Regions from separate parts of the Homo sapiens genome. Here region 2 is linked to region 1. Evidence: promoter capture Hi-C in human tissues and cell types (Jung and others, 2019). All regions are on one chromosome and are shown on one strand. Each heading gives the region's core, a stretch centred on a gene start or on the middle of the fragment in contact. The rest is flanking DNA. Distances are from core to core; before and after follow the strand shown.

Region 1 (7,279 bases), core at 3,438-5,937:
GCTTGGTGGCAGGCTCCTGTAATCCTAGCTACTTGGGAGGCTGAGGCGGGAGAATCGCTTGAACCCAGGAGGCAGAGGCTGCAGTGAGCTGAGATTGCATCACTGCACTCCAGTCTCGGTAATGGTGCTAGACTCTGTCTCAAAAAAAAAAAATTTTTTTTTTTTTTTTTGCTGAGATGGGTTCTCATTGTGTTGTCCAGGCTGGTCTCAAACTCCTGGGCTCAAGTGATCCTCCTGCCTCAGCTTCCCAAAGCACTGGAATTACAGATATAAGCCACTGCACCCGGCCCCTCCCAAGTCTTTAAGGGTCCATCTCTCCACAACTCTGTGTCTCTCTTCCTCTCCCCACCTGTGGTGGTTTGAAAATTAATCCCCAAATTCTGTGATACGTTTCCTTTCAAGAGCAAAGGATTTTTTTTTTTTTTTTTAGACAGGGTCTCATTCTGTCGCCCAGGCTGGAATGCAATGGCTCGATATTGGCTCACTGCAACCTCTGCCTCCCAGCTTCAAGCGATTCTCCTGCCTCAACCTCCTGAGTAGCTGGGATTACAGGCACACGCCACCATGCTCGGCTAATTTTTGTATTTTTTTTTTTTTTGAGACAGTCTTGCTCTGTCACCCAGGCTGGAGTGCAGTGGCGCGATCTCAGCTCACTGCAAGCTCCGCCTCCTGGGTTCACGCCATTCTCTTGCCTCAGCCTCCAGAGTAGCTAGGACTACAGGCGCCCACCACCACGCCCGGCTAATTTTTTGTATTTTTAGTAGAGACGGGGTTTCACCGTGGTCTCGATCTGCTGACCTCATGATCCGCCCGCCTCAGCCTCCCAAAGTGCTGGGATTACAAGCGTGAGCCAACACGCCCGGCCAATTTTTGTATTTTTAATAGAGACGAGGTTTCACCATGTTGGCCAGGCTGCTCTTGAACTCCTGATCTCAAGTGATCTGCCTTCCTCGGCCTCCCAAAGTGCTGGGATTACAGGCGTGAGCCACCGCTCCCGGCCCAAGAGCAGAGGATCCTAACGTCTTTCCTTTTGAGTGTAGGCTAGATCTAGTGACTCATTTCTGATGCGTGGAATAAAAGGTGTGTGACTTTGGGAGACTAGGTCATAAAAGACTTGAGATGACTGCAGCCCTGTCCAACAGTTTCACTGCACCCTCAAGAAGGATCCAGAACCACCCAATGAAGCCATTCCCACATTCCTGGCCCTCAGGAACTGTGAACACAATAAATGTTTGTTGTTTTAAGCCACTGAGTTTTAGGGTAATTTGTCACACAACAACAGATTTTTTTGTCGTTGTTTTGTTTTGTTTTGTCGTTGTTTTTGAGACAGTCTCACTCTTTGCCCAGGCTGGAGGGCACTGGTGTGATCTCGGCTCACTGCAACCTCCACTTCCTGAGTTCAAGTGATTCTCATGCCTCATCCTCCCGAGCAGCTGGGACTAGAGGCATGCGTCACCACACCCGGCTAATTTTTGTTTTTGTTTTTTTTTTTTTTTTGAGACAGAGTCTCACTCTGTCGCCCAGGCTGGAGTGCAGTGGCGCAATCTCGGCGTGTGCCACCATGCCCAGCTAATTTTTGTATTTTTAGCAGAGACACGGTTTCACCATGCTGGTGAGGCCAGTCTCGAAATCCTGACCTTGTGATCCGCCCGCCTTGGCCTCCCAAAGTGCTGGGATTACAGGCGTGAGCCACTGCGCCCAGCCTAATTTTTGTATTTTTGGTAAAGACGGGGTTTCACCACGTTGGTCAGGCTGGTCTCAAACTCCTGACCTCAAGTGATCTGCCTTCCTCGGCCTCCCAAAGTGCTGGAATTACAGGCGTGAGCTGCCGTTCCCCAACTATTTTTTTCTTTTTCTTTTTTCTTTTTTTTTTTTTTTTTTGAGACGGAGTCTCGCTCTGTCGCCCAGGCTGGAGTGCAGTGGCGTGATCTCAGCTCACTGCAAGCTCCACCTCCCGGGTTCACGCCATTCTCCTGCCTCAGCCTCCCGAGGAGCTGGGACTACAGGCGCCCGCCACCGCGCCCGGCTAATTTTTTGTATTTTTAGTAGAGATGGGGTTTCACCGTGGTCTCAATCTCCTGACCTCGTGATCCGCCCGCTTCAGCTTCCCAAAGTGCTAGGATTACAGGTGTGAGCCACTGTGCCCGGCCTGTTTTTTTCTTTTTCATAAAAAATAGAGACGAGGTCTTACTATGTTGCCCAGGCTGGTCTCAAACTCTTGATCTCAAGTGATCCTCCCTCCTCAGCCTCCCAAAGTGCTGGGATTACAGGCATGAACCACCAAGCCCCGCCAGCAATAAATTATTAGTATGTACCTTTCCTTCTTGTGTTTTTTCTTCGTGTCTCTCTCCACCCCTGACTCTCTGGGTTTCTTTCTGGGTGTCTCTCTCCATCTCTAGGTCTTTGAATGTCCATCCCAATTTGCTATCTCTGAATACCTCTGTCTTTCTGATTCCTTTGTAGTCTCTCCCATCATGTCAGTTGGTCTGCTTCTGGTCCTCTCTCCCTCTATCTGGGTCTCTCTATCTCTGTCCATCTGTTCCTCTCTGTTGATGTCTCTTTCTCTGCACGAGTGTCTCTATTTATAGATGTGTGTGTGCCTGTTCCCAGGTCTCTGTCTCTAGCTCTGTGTGTGTGTTTCTTTCTTTCTTTCTTTTTTTTTTTTTTTTTGAGATGGAGTCTCACTCTGTTGCCCAGGCTGGAGTGCACTGTTGGGATCTCGGCTCACTGTAGCCTCCACCTACCCGGTTCAAGCGATTCTCCTGTCTCAGCCTCCTGAGTAGCCGGGATTATAGGTGTGTGCCACCACGCTCAGCTAGTTTTTGTATTTTTTAGTAGAAACGGGGTTGCACCATTTTGGTCAGGCTGGTCTTGAACTCCTGACCTCAGGTGATCCACCCACCTCGACCACCCTAAGTGCTGGGATTACAGGCGTGAGCCACCATGCCTGGCTAAGTTTTTATGTATTTAGTAGAGATGGCATTTGGCCATGTTGGCCGGGCTGGTCTCAGTCTCCTGGCCTCAAGTGATCCATCCACCTTGACCTCCCAGAGTTCTGGGATTACAGGTGTGAGCCACCATGCTCAGTCTGTGTGTGTGTTTCTATGTCTCTCCCTCTCTGTGTCTCTCTCCACCTGTACTGATGTATGTGTGTCTCTTTCTATGTCTCTCTGTCTCGTTAATGTTTGGTGTCAGGCTGGACAAGGTGGCTCACACCTGTAATCCCAGCACTTTGGGAGGCCAAGGCAGGAGGATCCCTTGAGCCCAGGGGTTCCGGACCAGCCTGGGCATCATAGCAAGACTACATCTCTACAAAAAATAATTTTTAAAAATTAGCCTGGCATGGTGGCATGTGCCTGTAGTCCCAACTATTTGGGAGGCTGAGGTGGAAGGAGTGTTTAAGCCCAGGAGGTCGAGGCTGGATCAAGCCATGATCGCACCACTGCTCTCCAGCCTGGGTGACATTGCAAGGCTTGTCTCAAAAAAGAAAATAAAAGAAGACAATGAGCAGTTTCACTACCATTAGACGGGGTGAAAAATAATAAATAACAACAACAACAGTAATATGTGGTCTCTCTGAGGCTGGGTATGGTTGTTCATGCCTGTAATCTCAATGCTTTGGGAGGCCAAGGTGGGAGGATCCCTTGAGGACAGGAGTTTGAGACTAGCCTGAGCAACATAGCATGACCCCATCTCTTCTCCCCAAATACAAAAATGTGGTGTCTCTCTCTGTCTTTGGATCGCTCTTTCTCTCTTTTTGTCTCTCCCCACCCCATCTGCTGCTTGGTCTCTGAGTTTCTGTCTATCTCTAAGTGTGTGTCTCTATGTCTCCATGTCTGTCTCGCTGCGTCTCTGTATCTCCTTTTCTGCCTCTATCTGTATCTCTCTCATTCATTCCTTCCTCTCTCCCTCCCCCTCCTCCTCTCCCTCCTCCCCCTCCTCTCCCTCCCCCTCCTCTCCCTCCTCCCCCTCCTCCTTCACCTCCTCCCCCTCCTCCTCACTCCTGCCTGGCGGTTTGTTCTTGCCTCTCTAACCTTCTGTCCCTCCGCCCTTCCTCTCCGTATCCATCTCAGGCTCCCTTCCCCTCCCCAGCCTACGCAGATGTGGGTCCTCACCTCCCGCTCTCCGCCTCTGCCCTCCCGGCTCCTCCTCCCCGCCCCTCTCTCCCTCGCCAGGTCTCTGCCTCCCCCTCCAGGCGAGCAGCCCTCACTGCACTTCAGGCTCCTAGGGGATCCCCCGGCCCCGTTAAGGCAGCCCCAGGCAGAGACCCAGTGGAGCCCTGGGGCGGGGAAGGGGGGCTGCGGGCGCTGGGGCGGCTCCAACCTGGGTCCCAGCGAGCAGGGGGACCCTGCATCCGCCAAGGCCGGCGGCCCCCAGCATGGAGACTTCCGAAGCCACTCCCAGCTCCACCTTAAGCGCCCCCCCTTCCCCTTGCTGCGGAGGATGGAAACAGCCTGCTCCCGGCCCCAGGTGTCCCGGCCACCCCCGCCCGCGTGGCCCCAGCGCGGCTGGGAGCCGAGGACCAGCCCCCTACCTCCTTCCGAATCCTGCCCTTTCGCACATCCCACCCCAAGCCAACCCGAGGAGTGTTTGCCGCTATGAGATCACCTGCTCCCCCAGCCCAACAACAAAATTAAATAACACCACGGGAGAGGAGAGAGGGAGGGGGAGGAGGGAGGAAGGGACAAGAGAGAAGAGAGACTGAAACAGGGAGAAGAGGCAGGAGAGGAGGAGGTGGGGAGAGCACGAAGCTGGAGGCCGACACTGAGGGAGGGCGGGAGGAGGTGAAGAAGGAGAGAGGGGAGAAGAGGCAGGAGCTGGAAAGGAGAGAGGGAGGAGGAGGAGGAGATGCGGGATGGAGACCTGGAGTTAGGTGGCTTGGGAGAGCTTAATGAAAAGAGAACGGAGAGGAGGTGTGGGTTAGGAACCAAGAGGTAGCCCTGGGGGCAGCAGAAGGCTGAGAGGAGTAGGAAGATCAGGAGCTAGAGGGAGACTGGAGGGTTCCGGGAAAAGAGCAGAGGAAAGAGGAAAGACACAGAGAGACGGGAGAGAGAAGAAGAGTGGGTTTGAAGGGCGGATCTCAGTCCCTGGCTGCTTTGGCATTTGGGGAACTGGGACTCCCTGTGGGGAGGAGAGGAAAGCTGGAAGTCCTGGAGGGACAGGGTCCCAGAAGGAGGGGACAGAGGAGCTGAGAGAGGGGGGCAGGGCGTTGGGCAGGGGTCCCTCGGAGGCCTCCTGGGGATGGGGGCTGCAGCTCGTCTGAGCGCCCCTCGAGCGCTGGTACTCTGGGCTGCACTGGGGGCAGCAGGTAAGACCTGGGGTTCCCGGGAGGAGCCCCCGAGGGAGGGTGGAGGTGGGGATGCCAAGGAGAGGGATTCAGGCTGCTCTCTTCCCAGCTCACATCGGACCAGCACCTGACCCCGAGGACTGGTGGAGCTACAAGGATAATCTCCAGGGAAACTTCGTGCCAGGTGCCGCCAAGGCGGGGACCCAGGAGTCCGGCCCTCCCGGCGCCTCCTTCTTCAGACTCAGGAACCTGGGTTCCCAGCTCCCTCCTCCCCCCCAGGACCAGGAGTCCCAGCCCCCTCCTCTGTCCCTCAGGAGTCGGGCCAGCTTCTGAACCCCAGGGGCTCACCATGGGACATTATACATGCGCATTTCAAGTAGTGAGTGGGAGTGAGTGGAAGGAAAGTGTGGGGGTGGAGATTATGTGTGTGTTTGCCGGGAGAGGAAGGTCCTGGCTCCTGCTAGGAACCAGAGGCTGGGTGGCCCCGTCCCCCACCTTGTCCAGCCTTCTCTTGCAGCTCCTCTCCCCAACACATTAATAATAATCCAGCTGTGGGATAAGAGCGATTAAAAAAAAGAACTACAACTCCCACGGGGCTCTGGGGCAGGTAGGCAGCAGAGGGGTAGGCTGGTAGCACTGGGGCCTGCTGGGAGTTGTAGTTCCATCTACAGTGGCTTAAGATGGGTTTGATCGGCTGGGCGCGGTGGCTCACGCTTGAAATCCCAGCACTTTAGGAGGCCGAGGTGGGTGGATTACCTGTGGTCAGGAGTTCAAGACCAGCCTGGCCAACTTGGTGAAACCCGTCTCTGCTAAACTTGGAAACTATTCCAAGATTCTTCTAGGACCCAGAATTCTGGATCTGAGCCCAGTCCTCCCTCAGACCCAGGAGTCTAGGTCCCTAGCCCCTCCTCCCCTGGGATCTGGGAGTCCAGACCACAGCCCACTCAGCAGATACCAGCCCTGGGATCCAGTCTCTATTTCTGACTCCTTGTCCTCCTACTCCGACCCCACCCCCAGGGCCTCCTTTCTGGGGCCTGGTGAATGCAGCGTGGAGTCTGTGTGCTGTGGGGAAGCGGCAGAGCCCCGTGGATGTGGAGCTGAAGAGGGTTCTTTATGACCCCTTTCTGCCCCCATTAAGGCTCAGCACTGGAGGAGAGAAGGTAAGGGGCTTGGAGGGAGGAGCTATTGAACCCACTGGGGATGGGCATGAATAGAGGCTGGGGAATGGGGTGCTGAGGTAGGAGAGCAGCCTTGGGGGAGGAGGGGACACCCAGTGGGTGGAGAGGAGGCTGCTTACACTGTAAAATGGATCACCCATTCTTCCCATCCCAAGCATGGTCCCCTAGTCTCCCCATCTCTGCAGAAGCAATGAAAAGCAGAACATTTCCTGTGCCAGGCAGATTTAAAACCTTGATAAGCCTCTCATCTCATAACCACCCCACAAAATGGGTACAATTATTATTATTGTTATTATTATTATTATTATTTTGAGATGGAGTTTTGCTCTTGTTGCCCAGGCTGGAGTGCAATGATGTGATCTCAGCTCACTGCAACCTCCACCTCCCAGGTTCAAGCGATTCTCCTGCCCCAGCCTCCCGAGTAGTTGGGATTACAGGCATGCGCACCATCACGCCCAGCTAATTTTTTGTATTTTTAGCAGAGATGGGTTTTCTCCATTTTGGTCAGGCTGGTCTTGAACTCCTGACCTCAGGTGATCCACCTGCCTCGGCCTCCCAAAGTGCTAGGATTACAGGCATGAGCCACTGCGTCCAGCCAAAATGGGTACAATTATTAACCTTATTATATACATGCAGAAACTGACACACAGAGGTTAAGTTACTTGCCTAGGATCACACAGAGAGCCAGCACTGGCATTCAAACCAAGCAGCGTAGCATGAATGCTGGGACCTGCTTTATAGTACCATGCTGGGAACCATACTTTTTTTTTTTTTTTTTGGAATTGGGATCTCACTCTGTGACCCAGGCTGGAGT
Region 2 (7,279 bases), core at 3,392-5,891, 150 kb before region 1:
TGCAGTGGCATGATCGTGGCTCACTGCAGTCTCAAACTCCCAGGCTCAAGTGATCCTCCCACCACCTTCCAAATACCTGGGACTCCAGTCACGTGCTACCACGTCTGGCTAATTTTCGTATTTTTTGGTAGAGATGGGGTCTTGCTATAATGCCTGGGCTGGTCACGAACTCCTACACTCAAGTGATCCTCCTGCCTCGGCCTCCCAAAGTGCTGGGATTACAGTGAGCCACTGAGCCCGGTCGTGTCCTTTGCTTTCTAGAGTCTCCGTGTGTCTCTACCTGTTTGTCTCCCTGTCTATATCTGTCTCTCTTTTTCTCCATCTCTCTGACCCAGCTGCTAAATCTCCCCGGTGCTCTCCTCTTGGCCTCCATCTTTCAGTTGTCTGTGTCTTTGTGTATCTGTCTCTGTCTGTCTTGGTGTCTCTCATGACTGTCTGGAGAAGTCTCTGAGCCTCCCCACCCGCGTGTCCCCGCAGCTGTTTGAGGGCATGAAGGCGTTCAAAGGCAAAGACCAGCAGGTGCGCCTCTTCCGCCCCTGGCTCAACATGGACCGGATGCTGCGCTCAGCCATGCGCCTGTGCCTGCCGGTGAGGGGTCCCGGTCCACCGGGGTGGGGAGGAGGGCTGGGGCCGGGGCAGCAAGGGCCCCTTGACTCATTCAGAATCCCACCCAGAGTTTCGACAAGCTGGAGTTGCTGGAGTGCATCCGCCGGCTCATCGAAGTGGACAAGGACTGGGTCCCCGATGCCGCCGGCACCAGCCTCTATGTGCGGCCTGTGCTCATTGGGAACGAGGTGGGCCCAACTCCAGGGCTGGGAAGCTGGGCTGCGGGGGTTGGATTCTGCAGGGCAGGGGTGGGGTCCTGGAGGCCTGGGCCTGGGGACGGGAAGGGACTGGGGGCCTGGACTCCTGACGCTGTCCCTTTGCCCGTCGCAGCCCTCGCTGGGTGTCAGCCAGCCCACGCGCGCGCTCCTGTTCGTCATTCTCTGCCCAGTGGGTGCCTACTTCCCTGGAGGCTCCGTGACCCCGGTCTCCCTCCTGGCCGACCCAGCCTTCATCCGGGCCTGGGTGGGCGGGGTCGGCAACTACAAGTTAGGTGGGTAAGTAGCACCCCCATCCCCAGAACGACTGGCGCACTGGGCGTTGGAGACACAGGGACCAGCGTGCGTGCTTTCGGCCATGCCTCTGGATGTCACATGAAGGTGACATCATCAGCACCGTGCAGGGCTCAGTGCTAAGTGACCTCCCTGGTCCCTGAAAACAAACCATGGAAGGAAGGAGGAGGGGATTATTTTTCAGATGGACAAAAAGGCTCACAGATGGGAAGGCATTGGGTGGAGGTCAGTGGGGAAACCAGGACTGGTCCCTGGAAGCCTCCAGGAGTGAAGCTTACACTCAGCTCATTGGCTTCTCGCCCCAGAAGCCTCCCCTGATCCCCCAGGCTGGGCTGCGCTCCCCATACCCAGCTCCCACAGTCGTTTGAGCCTCCAAAGCCCCTCACCCCCGTGTGGACTTTCTGTGTAAATCTGTCTCCCAGTGGCCTCAGCTCAGCAGGGCAGGAAGGAGACAGCTGGGTCTCCTGGGCAACCAAGGCAGAGGGTGGGCACTGGCGTGTTGGGACAGGAATGTGGCCCCAGCTGGGGGTGCATTCAGGTCCTTTCAGCCACATCCTGTGAGGTCTCCTGAGGGCCAGGCCCTGTGCTGGCAGAAGCTGGGGACACAGATGAGTCAGCCCCGAGCCCTGCTCTCCTGGGTCTCCCAGGCTGGTGGGAGCCCCAGTATTCGGAGCTGCATGTTCTCTGGTGAGGTGACCCAGGGCATTGTGAAAGCCTTCACAGAGGCCAGAGGCGGTGGCTCACGCCTGTAATCCCAGCACTTTGGGAGGCTGAGGCGGGCAGATCACGAGGTCAGGAGATCGAGACCATCCTGATTAACACAGTGAAACCCCATCTCTACTAAAAATACAAAAAAAAAAAAAAAAAATTAGCCGGGCTTGGTGGCGGGCGCCTGTAGTCGCAGCTACTCAGGAGGCTGAGGCAGGACAATGGCGAGAACCCAGGAGACAGAGCTTGCAGTGAGCCGAGATCGCGCCACTGCACTCCAGCCTGGGCGACAGAGCGAAACTCCATCTCAAAAAAAAAAAAGAAAGGTTTCGCAGAGGAGGCGACCCTTCAACTAGGTCTGACGAGGAGGGAGGAGGGGGTTTCCTGGGTACAAAAGTCAGCAAACTGTTTCCAGTCCTGGGAACCATGTGTACAGGGACAGAAGGAATAGGATCACAGAAGATGTTCAGGTTACAAAAATAAGTTTGGGTTTTGAAAAATGCTTAGCAAGTATTCATTAGACCCAGGCAGGCCTGGAATGCCGGAAGGAGGCTAGGGTCTTGTCCTGGGGCACTGGGGAGCCATGGGAGGCTTGTTAGCAGCTGAGGGGAGAGGCTATCTCTGGGAGAGAGACTCAGAAAGTCATCCAGGTAGCCCAGTTCACTGGGGGAGTCCAGGGAAGGTCCAGCACCCAGCCTGGAGGTCTGGAAACACCTCTCGAGGAGGTGACAACAGAAACGGTTTTGGAGCCAGGCGCGGTAGCTCACGCTTGTAATCCCAGCACTTTGGGAGGCCGAGGTAGGCGGATCACTTGAGGTCAGGAGTTTGAGACCAGCCTGGCCAACATGGTGAAACCCCGTCTCTACTAAAAATATAAAAAGTAAGGCCGGGCGCTGTGGCTCACTCTTGTAATCCCAGCACTTTGGGGGGCTGAGGCGGGCATATAAATATAAATGTGAATATAAATTAGCCGGACATGGTGCTGCATGCCCCAGTTACTCCAGTTACTCAGGAGGCTGAGGCACGAGAATCGCTTGGACCCGAGAGGCGGAGGTTGCAGTGAGCTGAGATCGCACCACTGCACTCTAGCCTCAGCCTGGGCGACAGAGCAAGACTCTGTCTCAAAAAAAAAAAAAAGAAAAAAAGAAAAAAAGAAATGGTTTTGAATGACAGCTGAGGATTTGGTCAGTATGAAATGGGTGAGGGCTGGGCGCGGTGGCTCACGCCTGTAATCCCAGCACTTTGGGAGGCTGAGGCGGGCAGATCACCAGGTCAAGAGAGGCTGAGGCAGGAGAATCTCTTGAACCTGGGAGGCGGAGGTTGCAGTGAGCCAAGATCGCACCACTGCACTCCAGCCTGGGTGACAGAGCGAGACTCCGTCTTAAAAAAAAAAGAAAAGAAAAGAAAGAAAAGTGGGAAGAGACAGGAGAGAGGGGACATAACCATTTAGGGTCCTGATGCCAAATGAAAAGTCAAGGATTCCATCTCAGGGGAACTGGGGAGCCCTGTGAGAGCTGTGAGCAGGGAGACGGGAGAGAGTAGGATGAGCCTCCTCTGGGGCTGGGCTGGGGAAGGATGGGGCTCCCTTGCCCCACCCAACCAGACTGCCCTCCACCAGGAATTATGGGCCCACCGTGTTAGTGCAACAGGAGGCACTCAAGCGGGGCTGTGAACAGGTCCTCTGGCTGTATGGGCCCGACCACCAGCTCACCGAGGTGGGAACCATGAACATCTTTGTCTACTGGACCCACGAAGATGGGGGTAAGCCCACCCATGACCCAGCCCGAACCCTGGTGGAAGTGGGTGGCACCATCATTCCTGGCAGGTTACAGGCCCCAGGGATTCTGGGATGGGGGAAGGGGGTGGCTCTTAAGACGGCGGTGCTAGGGGGTGAGAGGTAACATCTTCCACCCCTTACACCTGCCCTAGTGCTGGAGCTGGTGACGCCCCCGCTGAATGGTGTTATCCTGCCTGGAGTGGTCAGACAGAGTCTACTGGACATGGCTCAGACCTGGGTGAGGACATGGCATCTTCTGGTGATGGGCGCCATGTGCCAGGGGCCAGGGCATCAGAGGGCTGGGACTGGGGCACACTGGCATGTCTCTGCCCCTTCTCCTGGGTCTGTCTCTCCCGTTGGGCCTCTGTCTTTCTCACTATCCTCAGGGAGGGAGAGGTGGAGGTCTGCAGCAGGGCAACCCTCTGGGGACACGTGTCTCTGCCAACTGCCCTGCAGGGTGAGTTCCGGGTGGTGGAGCGCACGATCACCATGAAGCAGTTGCTGCGGGCCCTGGAGGAGGGCCGCGTGCGGGAAGTCTTTGGCTCGGGCACCGCTTGCCAGGTCTGCCCAGTGCACCGAATCCTGTACAAAGACAGGGTGAGGCGGGGCTGCCATTGTGGGTGGGAGGGAAGGAGGGGAGGGGCTTGGTCCTCACCGCACCTTCTGTCCCAGAACCTCCACATTCCCACCATGGAAAATGGGCCTGAGCTGATCCTCCGCTTCCAGAAGGAGCTGAAGGAGATCCAGGTGAGCTGCAGGGAGCTGGGGAATGGGCTGGGAGCTTGTTCCCTGGAGAAGTTGGTGTCCCATGAGCCCCTGGACTAACAGCCAGCCTCCTTCAGTAGTACCAGGAACAGATAATGGCCTTTCTTATTGAGGCCCTGGAGAGTGGGCTTTCTGTGCTGCTCTGTGGCCTGGAAAACCCCTTGGGGCTAAATCACCCTTTCCTGGGAGCTCCCGGAGCCCTGGATATGTCTTCAGCTTTGGAAACCCCTTCCTGTGATCCTCTGCGGCTCCTGGGTGCCCTGGTAGGAGAAACCCCCTCTCCGTGGGCCTCTGAGGCCCCTGGGTGCCCTGGTGGGAGAAACTCCCTCCCTGTGATCCTCTGCTGCCCCGGGTGCCCTGGTGGGAGAAAGGCCCTTTCCATGAATCACTGAGACCTTAGCCAGCCCTCTGGCCATCTCAGAGGTTGGCCTCCCAAGATTCCCTGGAGCCCTGGGCTATCCCTTTGGCCGGAGAAAGCTTCCTCCCATGAGCCTCTGGACCTTGGCCCCTCTCTGGCACCAGACTGTTTAATCCCATAAATCTCTGGGGGTATTCCCATCTTCTGGGCCAAGATCTCTTTCCCAAGAATCTCTGGGCTCCTTTCCCAGACCTAGAGCTACATTTCTGTAAACTTTTGTGCATCAGGACCTAGAACTACACATCCTCTGACTATCTGGGCTTTCTGAGCTGAAAGTGACTTTTTCCAAGAGCCTTAGAGGCCTGGCCATAATTCCTGTCTTCAGAACTACATCTCCCGGAAGCCTCTGCGCCGCCTTAGCCTTGATTCCCCGTTCCCATCATTGTTGGGGCCCTCTGGGAAGTGGACTACATTTCCCGTGAGCCGCTGGGGCACAGCTCCGTAGGCACTCGGCCTGGAACACCCCAGGGCCTACTGGGAGTTGTAGTGCAGCTTCCACCTCACGCACTGCCTCCGTTGTTCCGCAGTACGGAATCAGAGCCCACGAGTGGATGTTCCCGGTGTGAAGCTGCAGGCTGTGCTCCAGATCCACCGACCCGTAGCATCTCGTCACGCCAGCACTCGCCTCCCTACCAATGACTCACCTGAAGTGCAATACGAAATAAAAGGCCAGCGGGCGGCGTCTGGGTCTCTGGCGCCCCCATGTGGTTGCGACACTCCCAAAGCCGTAAGGGCCGACCCAGGCATCTTGGCCCCCAGCCCCTCGTCGCGGGTTCAGGTCCGCCCATTACTCCTTGTCGTGCGGTCAAGGATACACCTTGGCCCCGATTCCGGATCTCTCCGTTCTCAGGCCAGACCCCTGGTGCTGCCGTTGATTTTTTTTTCTCTGTCTTTGCTGCAATTTTGAAATAAAATGCCAAAGAACACACATTGTCGGGCTTCTTCAGTGACGTGACTCTGGGGCTTTAACCCAGGAATCCTGCTTCCTCAGCCCATTTTATTCTGAAGGACTCAGTCATCCGAGCCCCCAGTGTTCTGATGGTTTCTCCAACCTGGGGGAGCATTTCATGTCTCCGGCACTGAACTTACTATCTGCCCCCCACCAACCAGCTCCTCCCCTACTTTCCCGTCTCCCAGTCTCTAGGCCGGACCCCTAGGTGCTGCATCCTTTTCTCTCAAAGCCCACGAGGCCCCGATCCCTGTTCCTCCTGCCCCCGACTCTGCTGTCCGTTCCCCCGCCTCTTTGTCCCCTAGGCCCTGGCCTCAGCTCAGCTGCTGTCTTCTACTGGCACCCTTGTTCCAGCCTGCAGTCTGCTACCTGGCCCAAAGGGTCTTTTCTACACCCAGACGTGGCCCAGTGCCCTCAGCCAGGACTGTAGTCACGGGACCCTAGTGGGTGTGGAGTGAGGCACGATACTCTCACCTGCTGGAGGGATTAAACGTGGAAGAGTTTAGACTGGGTATGGTGACTCCCACCTGCAATTCCAGCACTGTGGGAGGCTGAGGCGGGAGGATTGCTTGAGACCAGGCTGGGCAACACAGTGAGATCCCATCTGTACAGAAAATACAGAAAATTAACCAGGTGAGGTGGCATGTGAGTATAGTCCCAGCTACTCCAGAGGCTGAGGTGGGAGGATTGCCTGAGCCCGGGAGGTTGAGGCTGCAGTGAGCTGTGATTGTGCCACTACACTCCAGCCTGGGTGACAGAGCAAGACTGTCTTGAAAAAAAGGCCAGGCACTGTGGCTCATGCCCGTAATCCCAGCACTTTGGGAGGCCAAGGTGGGCGGATCACCTGAAGTCAGGAGTTCAAGAGCAGCCTGGCCAACATGGTGAAACCCCATCTCTACTAAAAATACAAAAAAACCAGCTGGACGTGGTGGAGGGTGCCTGTAATCCCATCTACTTGAGAGGCTGAGGCAGGAGAATCGCTTGAACCTAGGAGGCAGAGGTTGCAGTGAGCAGAGATCATGCCACTGCACTCCAACACACACACACACACACACACACACACACAGACACACACACACACTTTATTTTATTTTTTTCTTGAGACAGAGTCTCGCTCTGTCGCTCAGGCTGGAGTGCAGTGGCATGATCTCGACTCACTGCAACCTCTGCCTCCTGGGTTCAAGCGATTGTCCTGCCTCAGCCTCCCCAGTAGCTGGGACTACAGGCGTGCACTACCATGCCCAGCTAATTTTTGTATTTTTAGTAAAGATGGGAGTTTTGCCATGTTGGCCAGGCTGGTCTCAAACTGCTGACCTCAGGTGATCCACCTGCCTCGGCCTCTCAACATGCTGGGATGATAGGCATGAGCTACCCAACCTGGCCCACATATACCTTTTCATATTATAATTGTTATGTGGAGGTGTAGAGAAAGCCAGGCATTCGGATGGACGAGGCACATCCTCTTGCAGATTCGAATTCACAGACTGCCTTGGTTATCGGCTGGCTGTGTGACCTCAGGTGTGGTGCTTAATCTCCTTGATCCAATT

The links. The method cuts DNA at HindIII sites, captures the fragments that hold promoters and counts their contacts. A contact is called where the count stands out against the background at its distance.
Region 2: a contact is called between a fragment that was not itself captured here and the fragment with the promoter of CA11 in region 1, in 1 of the 25 tissues and cell types used here (adrenal gland).

The regions. Positions count from the first base shown.
Region 1 is chr19:48,643,595-48,650,873 of GRCh38, reverse strand. CA11 (carbonic anhydrase 11) reads left to right here and starts at 4,687. Exons shown (of 9, transcript NM_001217.5): 1 at 4,687-5,308; 2 at 5,397-5,471; 3 at 6,305-6,447. The coding sequence starts at 5,242. It also overlaps the pseudogene SEC1P. RefSeq lists silencers at 4,069-4,478, 4,509-4,698 and enhancers at 4,656-5,356, 5,357-6,057, 6,058-6,759. The HindIII fragment of the contact is 19,792 bases long and covers 1-7,279 here.
Region 2 is chr19:48,793,496-48,800,774 of GRCh38, reverse strand. BCAT2 (branched chain amino acid transaminase 2) reads left to right here. Exons shown (of 11, transcript NM_001190.4): 4 at 478-588; 5 at 675-794; 6 at 937-1,100; 7 at 3,442-3,584; 8 at 3,753-3,838; 9 at 4,057-4,197; 10 at 4,273-4,347; 11 at 5,311-5,711. The coding sequence ends at 5,349. Among named protein-coding and RNA genes, the nearest start is that of BCAT2, 14 kb to the left of the region's middle. RefSeq lists enhancers at 990-1,598, 1,599-2,207, 4,020-4,655, 5,253-5,432, 5,473-5,542 and 1 more. The HindIII fragment of the contact is 3,051 bases long and covers 3,116-6,166 here.